5 separate regions of the Homo sapiens genome follow, and regions 2, 3, 4 and 5 are each linked to region 1. The links are contacts of gene promoters, found by promoter capture Hi-C in blood cells and fetal thymus (Javierre and others, 2016). All regions are on one chromosome and are shown on one strand. The core of a region is centred on a gene start or on the middle of the fragment in contact, and the rest is flanking DNA. Distances in the headings are between cores, read along the strand shown. Region 1 holds the start of TRIM63 (tripartite motif containing 63). Region 2 overlaps CRYBG2 (crystallin beta-gamma domain containing 2). Region 3 holds the start of DHDDS (dehydrodolichyl diphosphate synthase subunit). Region 4 has its middle 18 kb from the start of ZNF683. Region 5 holds the start of ZNF683 (zinc finger protein 683).

Region 1 (2,700 bases), core at 35-2,534:
TCAGAAAAATGTCTGATGAATGAATAAAATTTCTGTCTTTGCCACTTATTTTCTTTCTTTTTTGTTTTGTTTTGTTTTGTTTGGAGATGGCGTTTCACTCTTGTCACCCAGGCTGGAGTGCAGTGGCGCGATCTCAGCTCACTGCAACCTCCACCTCCTGGGTTCAAGTGATTCTCCTGCTTCAGCCTCCTGAGTAGCTGGGATTACAGGCGCGTACCACCACACCCAGCTAAGTTTTGTGTTTTTAGTAGAGACAGGGTTTTACCATGTTGGCCAGGCTAGTCTCGAACTCCTGACCTCAAGTGATCCACCTGCCTCAGCCTTCCAAAGTGCTGGGATTACAGGTGTGAGACACCACGCCCGGCTGCCACTTACTTTCCAACTGACTTTGAATATAATCCTTTTCTTCTCTAGTCCCATTTCAAAATCTGTAAGATGAGGGGACTGGACTGTGTTTCAAAGGAGGCTTTTCAGCACTAAGTGAAATAAGTGGCCGAGGGATGGAGGATGGGCTGGTTGGAGTGGGGGTCTCCATCATCTCCAGCAAAATGCTGTGCTGAAGTCTGAGGCAGAGGGATGGGCTCAGAGAGAGGGGCTGCCCGACCCTTCCATCTAGGAGCTGCCCAGGACTCCAGAGGAGGGGATGGAATTGATTTAGGTCAGTGAGGGGTTGCGTGGGGCTGGGAGGGGGTTGAGGTTGGGAGGCTGAAGGAGGAGACTCCCTTCAACCTGGGAGGTGGAGGTTGCAGTGAGCAGAGATCGTGCCACTGCACAATCCTTTCTATCTCCCTTCCTGGGCTGTGAGTTTCTCGGGGCAGGGAAACAGATCACTCATCCATCTGTCACGTTGTGATGTATACTAGTTGCCTGATGTATATACTAGTACTCAGAAAAATGTCTGATGAATGAATAAAATTCATTCATCGAACATTTTCATCATAGCATTGGCTATTAACCCCTTGAATCCCCGTGGCTCACTTGCTGGGTCCCATCCCTGACCCACTAGCCTGGTGCCGGGGGGAGACCAATTTCTGGAGGAAGCTCTGGGTACCCAGTCTTGCCCTAAGCCTGCCTCTGAACAGGCTGTTCTTGTTTATGACCCCCGTCCCAGCAGAATAGTGATTGCTCATCCCTGCATGTGATTTGAGAGGGCCAGTCTTTCAGGCCTGGAGGAAACTCAAGCCCCACCAGCCGCTTGGCATCGGAATGCTCAGCTGGTCCCCTCCTGGGGCTCATGTGACCAAGATCTAGCTATAAATATCAGAGGGGCCTCAGACCAAGACAGAATTCGGGCACCAGGAGAAGGAAGCCAACAGGATCCGACCCGGTGTTTTGTGACAAAGGCAAGACCCCCAGGTCTACTTAGAGCAAAGTTAGTAGAGGAGGCAGCTAGGCGTGGCTCTCATTCCTTCCCACAGAATGGATTATAAGTCGAGCCTGATCCAGGATGGGAATCCCATGGAGAACTTGGAGAAGCAGCTGATCTGCCCTATCTGCCTGGAGATGTTTACCAAGCCAGTGGTCATCTTGCCGTGCCAGCACAACCTGTGCCGGAAGTGTGCCAATGACATCTTCCAGGTAAGTGCCGGGTGCAGCTTCATTTGGGGTCCCCAGGTGGCTACTTGGCTTCCCTGTGATGAAACCCTTCTCCCTTAGACTTCCAACCTGGACAGCCTCTTTCCCCTTGGAAGTGAACCCCTGCAGAGGCCTCTGGACAGGGCTGAGAGGGGGCTGGGAGGCGGCTCTGGCTGCTGCGGTTCTTCTCCATAACACAAGTTTCCCCTCCCTGCCCTGCCCACAGCTCCCCCACCCCTGCCCTGAGCACTGCTGTTGACTCTCCAATCAAGAGTCAAATGCCTCAAGTGATAAGCGGGGTAGGCAGGGACAGGAGAGAGAAACCAGACCCCTGGGGCTGGAGCCAGGTCCTGGTGGCAAGAGGCCCAGAGCTTTGGGAGGAGGGTGTCAGGGAGGCAGTGGGCAGTAGAGGCATCTTCCCTTTTGAGGCTGTTCCCTATGATATGGGGGCAGAAGGGGCTCCAACTCCCCGAGAAAGGAAGGGGGTAGATGTCCTGGCTGGGAGGCAGGATGCGAGGTTCCCCATGGACACTTTACAAAATGTTCTTTCACGATATTATCTTTAAAGTAGCAGCCTTAGGAGCTTGCTCTCATTGTAATACCTATTTCATAAGTGGGCAAACTGAGGCCTACACAGATAAGGTTGCTTGCCCAAAATCACTCAGAGAATAAACATGACTTGAACCCAGGTCTCCTGCCTCCCCATCCTGACGATTGCTTAGCTGCTTCTCAGGTGCTCTGTGTGTGAGGACTGGTTCTCATCACAGTCTGCAGAGCTCCAGGTTGTTAGGTTTGACGGGGGTGGTTCGGATAGGCAGAGGAAAGGATAAGAGGAGATTAGAAAAGAGAAGGGCTAAGTAGGGAGCCCAGGCCTCACCTTGACCTTTGCCACCTGCAGGCTGCAAATCCCTACTGGACCAGCCGGGGCAGCTCAGTGTCCATGTCTGGAGGCCGTTTCCGCTGCCCCACCTGCCGCCACGAGGTGATCATGGATCGTCACGGAGTGTACGGCCTGCAGAGGAACCTGCTGGTGGAGAACATCATCGACATCTACAAACAGGAGTGCTCCAGGTCGGTTCTCGTGCCTGCTGGGGGCCCGCCCTCCTTCCCAGCCATGCTGTGCCT
Region 2 (2,700 bases), core at 12-2,511, 280 kb before region 1:
AGGTATGCAGGCAGAAGCCAATGACCACATGCTTGTGGAATGACTGGCTATCAGGGGTGTTGTCCAGGGGTTGGGCTGGTTGAGAAAGACGTTAAATTCTGATTGGTAGGAGGTCATCGACAATATCTGATCTCATGATCGGCCGCCTCCTTTAACATTGCTCTCCTGTCGCTTTCCTGATGCCTATGGCGCTTTCCAAATGTCCCTGTTTTTATGTCTAATTCCTTGGCCCCTGGCTTCTTAATATGCCACCTTTCATGAGAAAGTTGGCTCTGGTTCTGGTTGAGTCTAGCCAAGGCCTAGCACATCCCTTGATACAATTAGCACTGAATGAGTGAGTAATTGAATGAATGAATGAATGAGTTAGAGCTCAAGCTTTGCCACTTACTATAAGCACCATCAGAGACAAGGAAGCTCGGAGAGTGGAAGGCAGGTGGACAGGGGCTTAGGAGGTGCTCAGCGAGGGCGTCAAACTTCATTTGGGCAGAGTCCCAGCGAGGAGGGCAGGGGTTGCATGAGGAAAAAGGGAGCTCCCTAATGGGGACAGGGGAGTGGGCTGGGGCCTCAGTGAGAGGCTAAAATCCAGAGCCTTTGGTGTCTGGCTGTGTACTGCTCTCAGGAAGCCCTGGCCTGGGAAAATGACCAGGGCTCTACCTAACCCCTCCACCTTCCAGTCCCCCTTGGACCCTGTCCCTGACACTGTCATAGCCACCAGCAGTCCTGGAGTCAGGTCAGGCTTCCCGGGGCTTCAGTCTCTTTCATCTCTGCCCCTCATAAAGCCTGAGTCACTGCTGTGGCCACAGGGAAGGGTCAAAGTTCTGAATTCCACCAGCTTCTCAGGAAGGAGGACAATGGGAAATGGGGGAGGGGAGTGGGGGCAGTGGGTCCATTTCCTGCCCAGAGTCAGGTCTCTTGGGGAGGGGAGGGTACCTCATGGAGAAGGCCCAAAGACTCGGGCTGAACAGGCTGGCCTCTCTGGGGTTCGTGGGGCCTAAGAATAGGATTGCCCTGGTCAGTGTAGCTTGGAAGTCAGGGAGTGGGGGTGGAGACGCCCTCCAGGACTGACATGGCTCCCTGTAAATGTAAACCCCCAAACCAGAGACTCAGTTATAGGATACATATATTAGGGAGTTTGGTATGGTGAGTGAGCACTTAGGGTTGGGGTTCAAGTCTTGTTTCGGTTACTCTGTGACTTTGGACAAGTTTCTTAACCTCTCTGAGCATTTAAAAAATCTCATCTGCAAAATGGGAAGGTATGATCTAATTTATTAATAATTTATTCTTTATGAGGTCTCAAGCTCCTGGGATTCTTCTGAGGCTTCAATGGGACAATGAATCTAAAGCACTTAGCAAGGTGTTTGGCAGAGTCAGCCCTCCCCAAATGGCTGTTTTTGTTGTTGTTGCAACTAGTAAAACAGAGAAATTCACCTGAGAGTTCCTAGGGAGCTTAGTCTATTTTCTGTTGCTTATAATGGAATACCTGAACCTGGAAGCCCAAGGTCAAGGGGGTGCATCTGGTAAGAACCTTGTTGGTGATTCTCTGCAGAGTCCCGAGGGGGCTCAGAGCATCACATGGCAGTGGGGCTGAGGTGCTAGTTCAGGTGTCCCTTCCTCTTCCTATAAAACCACTGGTCCGGTCAGGCACAATGGCTCACACCTGTAATCCCAGCACTGTGGGAGGCGGAGGTGGGCAGATCTCTTAGGCTCAGGAGTTTGAGACCAGACTGGGCAACATAGTGAAACCCCAACTCTACAAAAAATACAAAAATTAGCCAGGCATAGCGGTGCAGGCTTGTAGTCCCAGCTACTCGGTGGGCTGAGGTGGGAGGACTGTTTGGGCCCAGGAGGCAGAGGTTGCAGTAAGCTGAGATTGTGCCACTGCACTCCAGCCTGGGCAACAGAGCAAAACCCTGTCTCAAAAAAAAAAAAAAAAAAAAAAAGCCTCTAGTCCTACTCCCATGATCACTCATTAATCCATTAAACCATTAATCTATTAATCCATGAGTATATTAATCCATTCATGAGGCATAGCCCTCATAACCCAATCACTGCTTAGAGGCCCCACCTCTCAATATTACCACATTGGGGATTAAGTTTCAACATGAGTTTTGGAGGGGACAAATATTCAAGCCATAGCAGAAGCTTAGAAGGTCTTCTTTGGCAGGTGTTAATATTATCCTACATTTAGTAAGGGAGGCTATGGAGACCCAGAGAGATCAAGGAAGAGTCAGAAAAGAAACAAGACCCAGGCCCCACCCCTCCAGGACGGAGGGTGAGACATGCTCTGCTGAGGATGATCACAGGAGCAGCTGGACATGCCCCAGAGCTGTGGCCTGGGGGTAGGAGGGAGGATGCCTGGATGTGAAATCAGAAGATGGGAATTTAAATCCCTGCTTGACAACCTCATAGCCGCGTCATCCTGGGCCAGTCACTCGTCTTCTCTGACCCTCGGTTTCTTAACCTTCAGTAGGGAAAAAATCACAGAGGACAGAATCGAGGGAAGAGTGCCTTGTAAAGCCCAAGTGCCCTAACGGAGCCAAGGGGCTCCATTTATTTACTTTTTTTTTAAAATTTTAATTTTGAGACAGAGTCTCGCTCTGTTGCCCAGGCTGGAGTGCAGAGGCGTGATCTCAGCTCACTGCAACCTCCGCCCCCCAGGTTCAAGCGATTCTCCTACCTCAGCTTCCCAAGTAGCTGGGA
Region 3 (2,700 bases), core at 58-2,557, 360 kb before region 1:
GTCACCCAGGCTGGAGTGTGGTGGCACAATCATGACTCACTGCAGCTTTGACCTGGGCTCAAGAAATTCTCCCACTTCAGCCTTCCGAGTAGCTGGGACTACAGGTGCACACCACCAAGCCCTGCTATTTTTTTAATTTTTTGGAGAATCGGGGTTTTGCCATGTTGCCCAGGCTGGTCTCAACTCCTGAGCTCAAACAATCTGCCCACCTCAGCCTCCCAAATTGCTGGGATTACAGGCGTGAGTGACCGGGCCCAGCTCTACTGACAGATCAAAGAATATATCAAAGATTAACCTATTTAAATCAAGAAGACAGTACATGGAACAATGGATCAATGTTCCAGGGAAACAAATTTCAGTTCTCTATAAAGAATACTTAGCAGTCTAGGCTGCCCAGTGACATTAAGAGGCCTGGGCTTCCAGAAAATATCAGAGTTAGGACAAAAGTCTACCAGAAATGTAGACCTGGAAGTTACCATTCTAAGACTCTTTGGTTTCCTTGCTAAATTCCACTTAACATCATGAATTGCACTTAACATCATCAACTTTAATAACAGGTTTTTATATAAGATTATCCAACTGACCAGAAGGCCAACCGGTGCTCTGGGCCATTGCTCACCTTTATGATGTTGGCACAGAACCGCTCCCAAAGTGACAGCTCTCCTTCCTTGATCCATGACATAGTTCTTTTCCAGTCAGAAGATCACTCCAGAACAAGCAAACACCAGCCAGGTAATCTTGGATAAACAAGAAAGAAAATAAGAAGTCACCAAGGTTTGCGAAGAGCTATAACTGACTTCTGGGGAATCAGATGGACTATGGAGAGCAGCCAGCATTAGAATCCAAAGACACTGGTCTAAGCCTATAATCTTTTACCACCCAGAGTTTTATAACGCAATGTGACCTCTGGAGGCAAAAGCCTTTCCTCGGTTCTCCTGGCTTTGCAGACTTCTTCCCATTCCCATTTCCTCCGTATCTGCACTGACTTCTTCTGAACATCTAAGTCGGTTTCCTGCCACATCATGGTGCCCACATCTTGATCATTCCCCGTTTCTTCCTTCTCCATCTTCCCCTAAGCTGTTTCCAACTCTGTGCTCCCAGTTACTAACTCCTTCAGTTATCGCACGCCTAGTACTTCACGCCTCAGTGGTCTCCTGATTATTCCCTCAGTCGTCCCTTTGCTTCTCCCGCAGCTGCTCCCCGCCCAGTCACCCTCTTCTCCTCTAGTTCACCCCTTCAGTTCAGTGGCACCTGATTAGCTCCGCTGGGCGCGTCCCCACGGCTTCAGTGGGCCGGCACTTCCTCATGACGTGGCGCTGGCAGAACACGTCATCTTTGGGCGCTGCGACACGCCCCTTCCGTCACCCAAACTGAGGGGACCCTGCCCTGCGCCTGCGCCTGCGAGCTAGTGGGAGGGCGGTTCTCAGTCCCGCGGGGTGTGGAAGCCGGCGCGGGTGAGAGCCAGGCTCACGTGACCGAGCGGGGCGGGAGGCTGGGCTCCAGGCCACGTGCTGGGAGACCAGCTGGGGAAGACAGGGTTGAGCCCAGCGTTGGGAGCGGAGGCGTCTGGAAAACGCGCCAGGGAAATGAGCCAGGGGCAAGAATCGAGGCGCTTCTCGGCCGTCGAAGGCAGCTTAGGACTGCTGAGAGACTGGGTAAGGCAGCGTCCTTACCTTGGAATGCCGCAGAACCGGGCTTCATTAGAGCACTGGTGCATACTCTTAAAAATTATCTCGTTACCGTTTCGTATTTTATTTAGTGGATTTAATCGTCTGGGAAGGAGTTTCTAGCCGCAGCCAATCTTACAGACGCGCAGAATATTAATCTATTTTGTGCCGACTTAAGGCACGCATATTTTAGGATTTGTGGATTCCCAAGACCTATCCCAACGAACTCAAGAGAAGGGGTAAGGCCAGAAAGATTTCTGCCATAAGAATGACTTCTAGGCCAGGCGCGGTGGCTCACGCCTGTAATCCCAGCACTTTGGGAGGCCGAGGCGAACGGATCACCTGAGGTCAGGAGTTTGAGACCAGCCTGACCAACATCGTGAAACCCCGTCTGTACTAAAAATACAGAAAATGAGCCGGGCGTGGTGGCGGGCGCCTGTTATCCCAGTTACTCGGGAGGGTGAGGCAAGAGAATCGCTTGAACCCGGGAGGCGGAGGTTGCGGTGAGCCAAGATCAGGCCACTGCACTCCAGCCTGGGCAACAGGAGCGAAACTCTGTCTGAAAAAAGAAAAAAAAAAAAAGCATGACTTCTAAAATAACAGAAAGGTGCTCGCTTTGGCAGTACATAAATGAAAATAACAGAAATTAACCCTGGTAGAAAAGTTAAGGGCATTAGCTCTACTGAACCTTTACGAAAAAAAGGGTTGCAAGAATTCTAGGCTCACAAAACAAATTTGTAGTTCAATTTTCTCAAAATTGAAAGAGGAGGAAAAAATTCTTTACAGATTCTTATACAACCAGTATTATTTTTATTTATTTATTTATTTATTTATTTATTTAGAGACGGAGTCTGGCTATGTCGCCCAGGCTGGAGTGCAGTGGCGCGATCTCGGCTCACTGCAGCCTCCGCCTCCCGGGTTCAAGCGTTTCTCCTGCTTCATCCTCCTGAGTAGCTGGGACTACAGGCGCGTGCCACCAAGCCTGGCTAATTTTTGTATTTTTAGTAGAGACAGGGTTTCACCATTTTGGCCA
Region 4 (2,700 bases), core at 36-2,535, 320 kb before region 1:
AATACAAAAAATTTGCCAGGCTTGGTGGCAGGCACCTGTAATCCCAGCTATTTGGGAGACTGAGGCAGGAGAATCACTTGAGCCCGGGAGGTGGAGGTGGCAGTGAGCCAAGATTGCCCCATTGCACTCTAGCCTTGGCAACAAGAGCAAGACTACATCTCAAAAAAAAAAAAAAAAAAAGACAGTAGTCAGGAATTTCTCATTCACCTTTTTCTAAATACCTCATCCCAGGTATCTTCTCACCAACTATTCTCCTCCAGAGAAATCCACTGTTCTGCCATACTTTTAGCGGGATCCTGTTTCAGAAACACACTCACCTACCCCACCACCACCCCACCAACTTTCCTTGCTCTTCACCCACCAGTCCTCGTCCACCTCCACCCCAGTGTCCCAGCCAATCACTACTGATTGATTGATTTGGGAGGAGGGGGAAAGAGGATCGATGGAGGACTCTGGGCCTATTCTTATTCAAAGCAAAAGGTTTAAGAGGGGGTGGATATTCATTGTGGAGAGGATGCAGAAATCGCTGTGGCGCTCCACAGCCTTGCTGATGTGGTCTGCAGCGTGGGGGAGGGTGGGTCAGGCCACTGGGGGTGGGGACGGATGCTCTGAAGGCTGGGAGGACAGTGGTGTGGGGGCTGATAGAGGTAAGAAGAAGGCATGCATCAGCAGTCTGGGCATAAGGTGAGGTTCCCCAACTCTGCCCCTCAGGGAGGAAATTTATGACCGAGAGTCATTCTTCCCAGCTCAGAGAGGATGCCCTGGGTACTCTCAATGTCCAGCAGGGGACACCCTTACCCCACATGACCCCTTTCCTCATCCACCATCACTAAGTTCCGTTGTTCATTCATTCATTCATACATTGAAACGTTGTTTGAGTGCCACTATGTGCCAGACACCATGCCACAGACTGGAAAAATACAGGCATGAACAAGATAGATACACAGACAAATGAGGTTCCAGGCCTTGTGGCACCAGCAGGGCAGGATTACAGTGAACAAATAGTTATAGTGATTTAATTTAAGGGAAAGGAGATCAGAAAAAAGCTTTCCTCAGAAACTGATTTTGAAACAGAGACTTAACAGATGCCTAAATCTTGACCAAAGAAAATGTGAAAAAGAGGTAAAGGGGGGGCGTTTGTATGTGTGTGCATGTGTTGAGAGTGTGTTTCAGGCAGAGGGAACAATTTATACAGACCTTGAAGCAGAGAAGATCAAGGTTCCTTTAGAGGGATGAACAGAGAAACCTGTGCACAGCTGGATTCAGCTTTGGTTGGAGGTTTAACCCTTTAAATTGTAGAATGCATGCATGTGGACACACACACAGACACACACACACACGTGCACACACACAGCCGGGGCCTCCATTTCCCAAGGCGCAATTTTCCTGGTAATCACTTTTTTTTTTTTAAAGAGAAGGCAAGGACAGAGAGCCAGCAGACCTCTGAGGCCTTTCCAAAGTAATCAAACTCAAAACCTGTCTTCCAGGAATGAGTGGAACAGAGGTAGATTTAGCTTAAGCTTCAGGGCTTCTCCTTGGGAGGAGTTAAGTAATGTGTGCAAATGATTTTTTTTTTTTTTTGAGGTGGAGTCTGACTCTGTCATCCAGGCTGGAGTGCAGTGGCACGATCTCGGCTCACTGCAACCTCCATCTCCCGGGTTCACGCCATTATCCTACATCGGCCTCCCGAGTAGCTGGGACTATAGGCGCCCACCACCATGCCCGGCTGATTTTTTGTATTTTTAGTAGAGATGGGGTTTGACCATGTTAGCCAGGATGGTCTCGATCTCCTGACCTGGTAATCTGCCCGCCTCAGCCTCCCAAAGTGCTGGGATTACATGCGTGAGCCACCGTACCCGGCCTTTTTTTTTTTTTTTTTTTTTGATATGGAGTTTCGCTCTTCTGCCCAGGCTGGAGTGAAGTGGCAAAATCTCAGCTCACTGCAACCTCCGTACCCCAGGTTCAAGTGATTCTCCTGCCTCAGCCTCCCAAGTAGCTGGGATTATAGGTGCCTGCTACCACGACCGGCTAATTTTTGTATTTTTAGTAGAGACAGGGTTTCACCATGTTGGCCAGGCTGGTCTTGAACTCTTGATCTTAAATGATCCGTCTGCATTAGCCTCCCAAAGTACTGGGATTACAGGCATGAGCCACCATGCCCGGTCAATCTAATATTAATAGAAGGCACAGAGCCCACCCTGTGGGGGCCTCCTCATCTCAAGGTGAGACCAGGACTCAACCAGGGGAACCCCTGGTCAGATGGGAAAGACACAGAACCTGCTCTCTGAGAATCTGATCCCCTGACCTTCTCAATACTAACCTTGGCTGGGAGTGGTGGTACGTACCTGCAGCCCCAGCTATGCAGGAGGCTGAGGTGGGAGGATTGCTTGAGCCTGGGAGGTTGAGGTTGCAGTATGCTGTGATTGCATCACTGTACTCCAACCTGGATGACAGAGCAAGACCCTGTCTCAAAACAAAACAAAACAAAACAAAACAAAACAAAAATCACTAACCCTGCCCCTTCCTCCTCATTCTGCTCCTAGATGCCCCTCCAAAACTGGCTGGCCCTTCAGGCCCTGAGGCTGTCCTCCTCTGTGCAGGAGGCCTTGTACCAGGCTATGTTTCTTCAAAGCCCCTCCTTCCCTCAGCCTGTGGGGGTTTCCTGGAAACAGAGTGGTGGTGGTGAGAGTCTGCTTCAAA
Region 5 (2,700 bases), core at 33-2,532, 310 kb before region 1:
AAATGAGGGGGTGGCTGTCGTAGTGGGGGAAGCTGACATGGCCAAGAGATGGCAGAGTCTGAGGTTTACCACTAAAGAGCTCTTGGCTACTTGTTGTGTGACTCTGGATGAGCTGCTAATAATAAAATCCACCACACAGGCTTATTGTGAAGACTAAATGAGATAAAGTTTATGAAGCCCCTAGCACAGTGCCAGACACAGCAAGAAAGCTGTTTGTAAAGGTGGCTATTTACTCTGTTCCTTGGACAATTCCAGCTGGAACCCTGTTACTTTATCTTCTATTCTGGGCATGTATAATGCAGAATTATCAGTTGTAAGCTACAAAAACCATTTCAGGAGGAGTTAAGCAGAAGGAATTTGTTTAAAAGATGTTAGAAAAGCTCGCAGGAGGTCTGAGAAGGCTGGAGAGCAAGGCTTGGAGAATAGGATGGATCAAGGGAGGCTGGAAGTAGACAGGACCATGGCCAAATATCACACCCCAGGACCAGCCCTGCACAGATTCTGCAGCCTCCCCTGAACCCCCTTCTTTCCTTCACTGCCCTGGAAGCCGGATGTGGTACCACAGCCTTTGTTGTAGAGAGGAGTTTCCACAGACCTGCCACCTCAGGACCAGTGGCTTTTTTTATTGTATTTTATTTTATTTTGAGATGGAGCCTCACTCTGTTGCCCAGCCTGGAGTGTAGCAGAGCCATCTCAGCTCACTGCAACCTCCGCCTCCCGGGTTCAAGCAATTCTCCTGCCTCAGTCTCCCAAGTAGCTGGAAATACAGGCACGTGCCACCACACTTGGCTAATTTTTGTATTTTTGTAGAGATGGGGTCCCACCATGTTGGCCAGGCTGGTCTTGAACTCCTGACCTCAAGTGATCTGCCCGCCTCGGCCTCCCAAAGTCCTGGGATTACAGGCGTGAGCCACTGCGCTCAGCCAGTGGCACTAGCTTCTGATCTGCTAGTCTACTGGGCTGCAGTGGAGATTAATGGCTGCTTGGGGCTTTTGTACCCTGGGCCAGACTCACGCACACCAGAATTTGTGTGAGGCCACAGGGGTTATGCCTCTTCTCATGCTCACAAGACTCGGCTTGGCAAGGAAATGTCCCAGGAGGTGGGCTAAGACAGACTCCCTCAGGTTCCCACATGGAGCAGCCTCTGCCTGCCAAGCCCTTCCTTGCTCTCGTCTCCCAGATCATCTGTCTTGTCAGCCTCCATGCCCTGTGATGTCACAGGCCTAAATGTGATGTCACTTTGTCCCACATGCCCTGGGGAGGTAGCACAAAGGGAGGACCATGGTCTTCTAACTGAGGAACCTGAGCAGATGCCTTGACCCAGACCAGAGACCCAAGCCAAGGAAAGCCCATGATCACCAGAGTAGGTTGGGAAGTGCGGATAGAGGGGAAGTAGTTTTTATTTTTTTCTAACAGAGAAGTTGTGCAAGGTGTTCTGAGAGTTGGGAGCAGAGTGTGATGCCAGGAGAGGGCAGAGCTGGCAGATGGAAGCCAAAGGTGTGCGGGTCACCCCTTCTGGGTGGGGACATCTGATCGACCTAGTCCATGTATGCCTGCATGAAGTGCTGGTGAGGGAGGTTGGAATTAAGTATTTGGCCATTTCGGCTTTTATAATGGGAGGTACCTTTTGCCTCCCTCAAGACTCATGTAGGGGAAAAGTTTCAGAGGCTGGGCGTCCAAAAAAACCTGACAGATGTCTACATGGAAAACCAAAATGAGTAGACAGAGGACCCTGTCCTTGAGATGCTCACAAACATGTTGGGATCAGTTATGTGGAGGATGAGTCACAGCCCTAGGGGCTGAGCTGGCAGAGAAACCCCAGGAACATGCCCCAGCCCATGGTGCACAGCCTGAGATGTCCCTGTATATTCTGGGACACCAGGGTGGCGTGGCTGGGGTGCAGATTGATGGCTGGTTGGGGCTTTTGCACCCTGGGCCAGACTCACGCACACCAGAATTTGTGTAAGGCCGCAGGGGTGATGCCTCTTCTCATGCTCACAAGAATAATGACATTGCTCAGGCTAAAAAGCCACTTTCTGGCCTATGAGGTCTCCCTTTTTGTATCTAGACATGTCTTTTCCTTATTTATTAACTTTTTTTAAGACAGGGTCTCGCTCTGTCACCCAGGCTGGAGTGCAGTGGCATGATCTCAGCTCACTGCAGTCTCGACCTCCCTGGCTCAAGTGATCCTCCCACCTCAGCCTCCTGAGTAGCTGGAACAACAGGCATGCGCTACCATGCCTGGCTAATTTTTGTATTTTTTGTAGAGATGGTGTTTCACCATGTTGCTCATGCTGGTCTTGAACTCCTGGGCTCAAGCAGTTGGCCCACCTCAGCCTCCCAAAGTGCTGGGATTACAGATGTGAGCCACCACACCTGGCCTAGTCATGCCTTACACCCATTTTGCTATGTCTATTTTTTTTTTTTTTAAAGAGACAGGGTCTTTCTCTGTCACCCAGGCTAGAGTGCAGTGGCAATATCCTAGTTCACTGCAGCCTTATATTCCTGGGCTCAAGTGATCCTCCTGCCTCAGCCTCCTGAGTAGCTGGGACCAGAGGTGCAAGTCACCATGCCCAGCTAAGTTTTGTATTTTTTGTAGAGATGAGGTCTTGCTTTGTTGCCCAGGCTGATCTCAAACTCCTGGGCTCAAGAGATGGGTCTGCCTTGGTCTCCTGAAGTGCTGGGATTACAGATGTGAGC

Evidence for each region. Contacts are between HindIII fragments. The CHiCAGO score rates a contact against its expected background, and 5 or more counts as called.
Region 2: a contact is called between a fragment that was not itself captured here and the fragment with the promoter of TRIM63 in region 1, in 1 of 17 cell types (M1 macrophages). The highest score is 5.7, in M1 macrophages.
Region 3: a contact is called between the fragment with the promoter of DHDDS here and the fragment with the promoter of TRIM63 in region 1, in 2 of 17 cell types (M1 macrophages and M0 macrophages). The highest score is 5.5, in M1 macrophages.
Region 4: a contact is called between a fragment that was not itself captured here and the fragment with the promoter of TRIM63 in region 1, in 6 of 17 cell types (M2 macrophages, M1 macrophages, M0 macrophages and 3 more). The highest score is 9.5, in M2 macrophages.
Region 5: a contact is called between the fragment with the promoter of ZNF683 here and the fragment with the promoter of TRIM63 in region 1, in 6 of 17 cell types (M1 macrophages, monocytes, M0 macrophages and 3 more). The highest score is 6.1, in M1 macrophages.

The regions. Positions count from the first base shown.
Region 1 is chr1:26,066,214-26,068,913 of GRCh38, reverse strand. It overlaps TRIM63 (tripartite motif containing 63), which reads left to right and starts at 1,284. Exons shown (of 9, transcript NM_032588.4): 1 at 1,284-1,578; 2 at 2,474-2,646. The coding sequence starts at 1,420. The HindIII fragment of the contact is 10,936 bases long and covers 1-2,700 here.
Region 2 is chr1:26,349,050-26,351,749 of GRCh38, reverse strand. All of the region lies in intron 1 of CRYBG2 (crystallin beta-gamma domain containing 2), which reads left to right. Among named protein-coding and RNA genes, the nearest start is that of CRYBG2, 3.7 kb to the left of the region's middle. RefSeq lists a silencer at 121-319 and an enhancer at 1,535-2,381. The HindIII fragment of the contact is 1,767 bases long and covers 378-2,144 here.
Region 3 is chr1:26,430,928-26,433,627 of GRCh38, reverse strand. It overlaps DHDDS (dehydrodolichyl diphosphate synthase subunit), which reads right to left and starts at 1,307. Exons shown (of 9, transcript NM_205861.3): 1 at 1,252-1,307; 2 at 620-737. The coding sequence starts at 682. It overlaps LOC124903883 (a long non-coding RNA gene), which reads left to right and starts at 1,391. Exons shown (of 2, transcript XR_007065557.1): 1 at 1,391-1,655; 2 at 2,510-2,700. RefSeq lists enhancers at 988-1,477, 1,015-1,551, 1,578-1,637, 1,708-1,767, 1,552-2,088. The HindIII fragment of the contact is 8,751 bases long and covers 1-2,700 here.
Region 4 is chr1:26,389,754-26,392,453 of GRCh38, reverse strand. No RefSeq gene overlaps it. Among named protein-coding and RNA genes, the nearest start is that of ZNF683, 18 kb to the right of the region's middle. The HindIII fragment of the contact is 474 bases long and covers 1,049-1,522 here.
Region 5 is chr1:26,371,332-26,374,031 of GRCh38, reverse strand. ZNF683 (zinc finger protein 683) reads left to right here and starts at 1,282. Exons shown (of 6, transcript NM_001114759.3): 1 at 1,282-1,363. The HindIII fragment of the contact is 11,410 bases long and covers 1-2,700 here.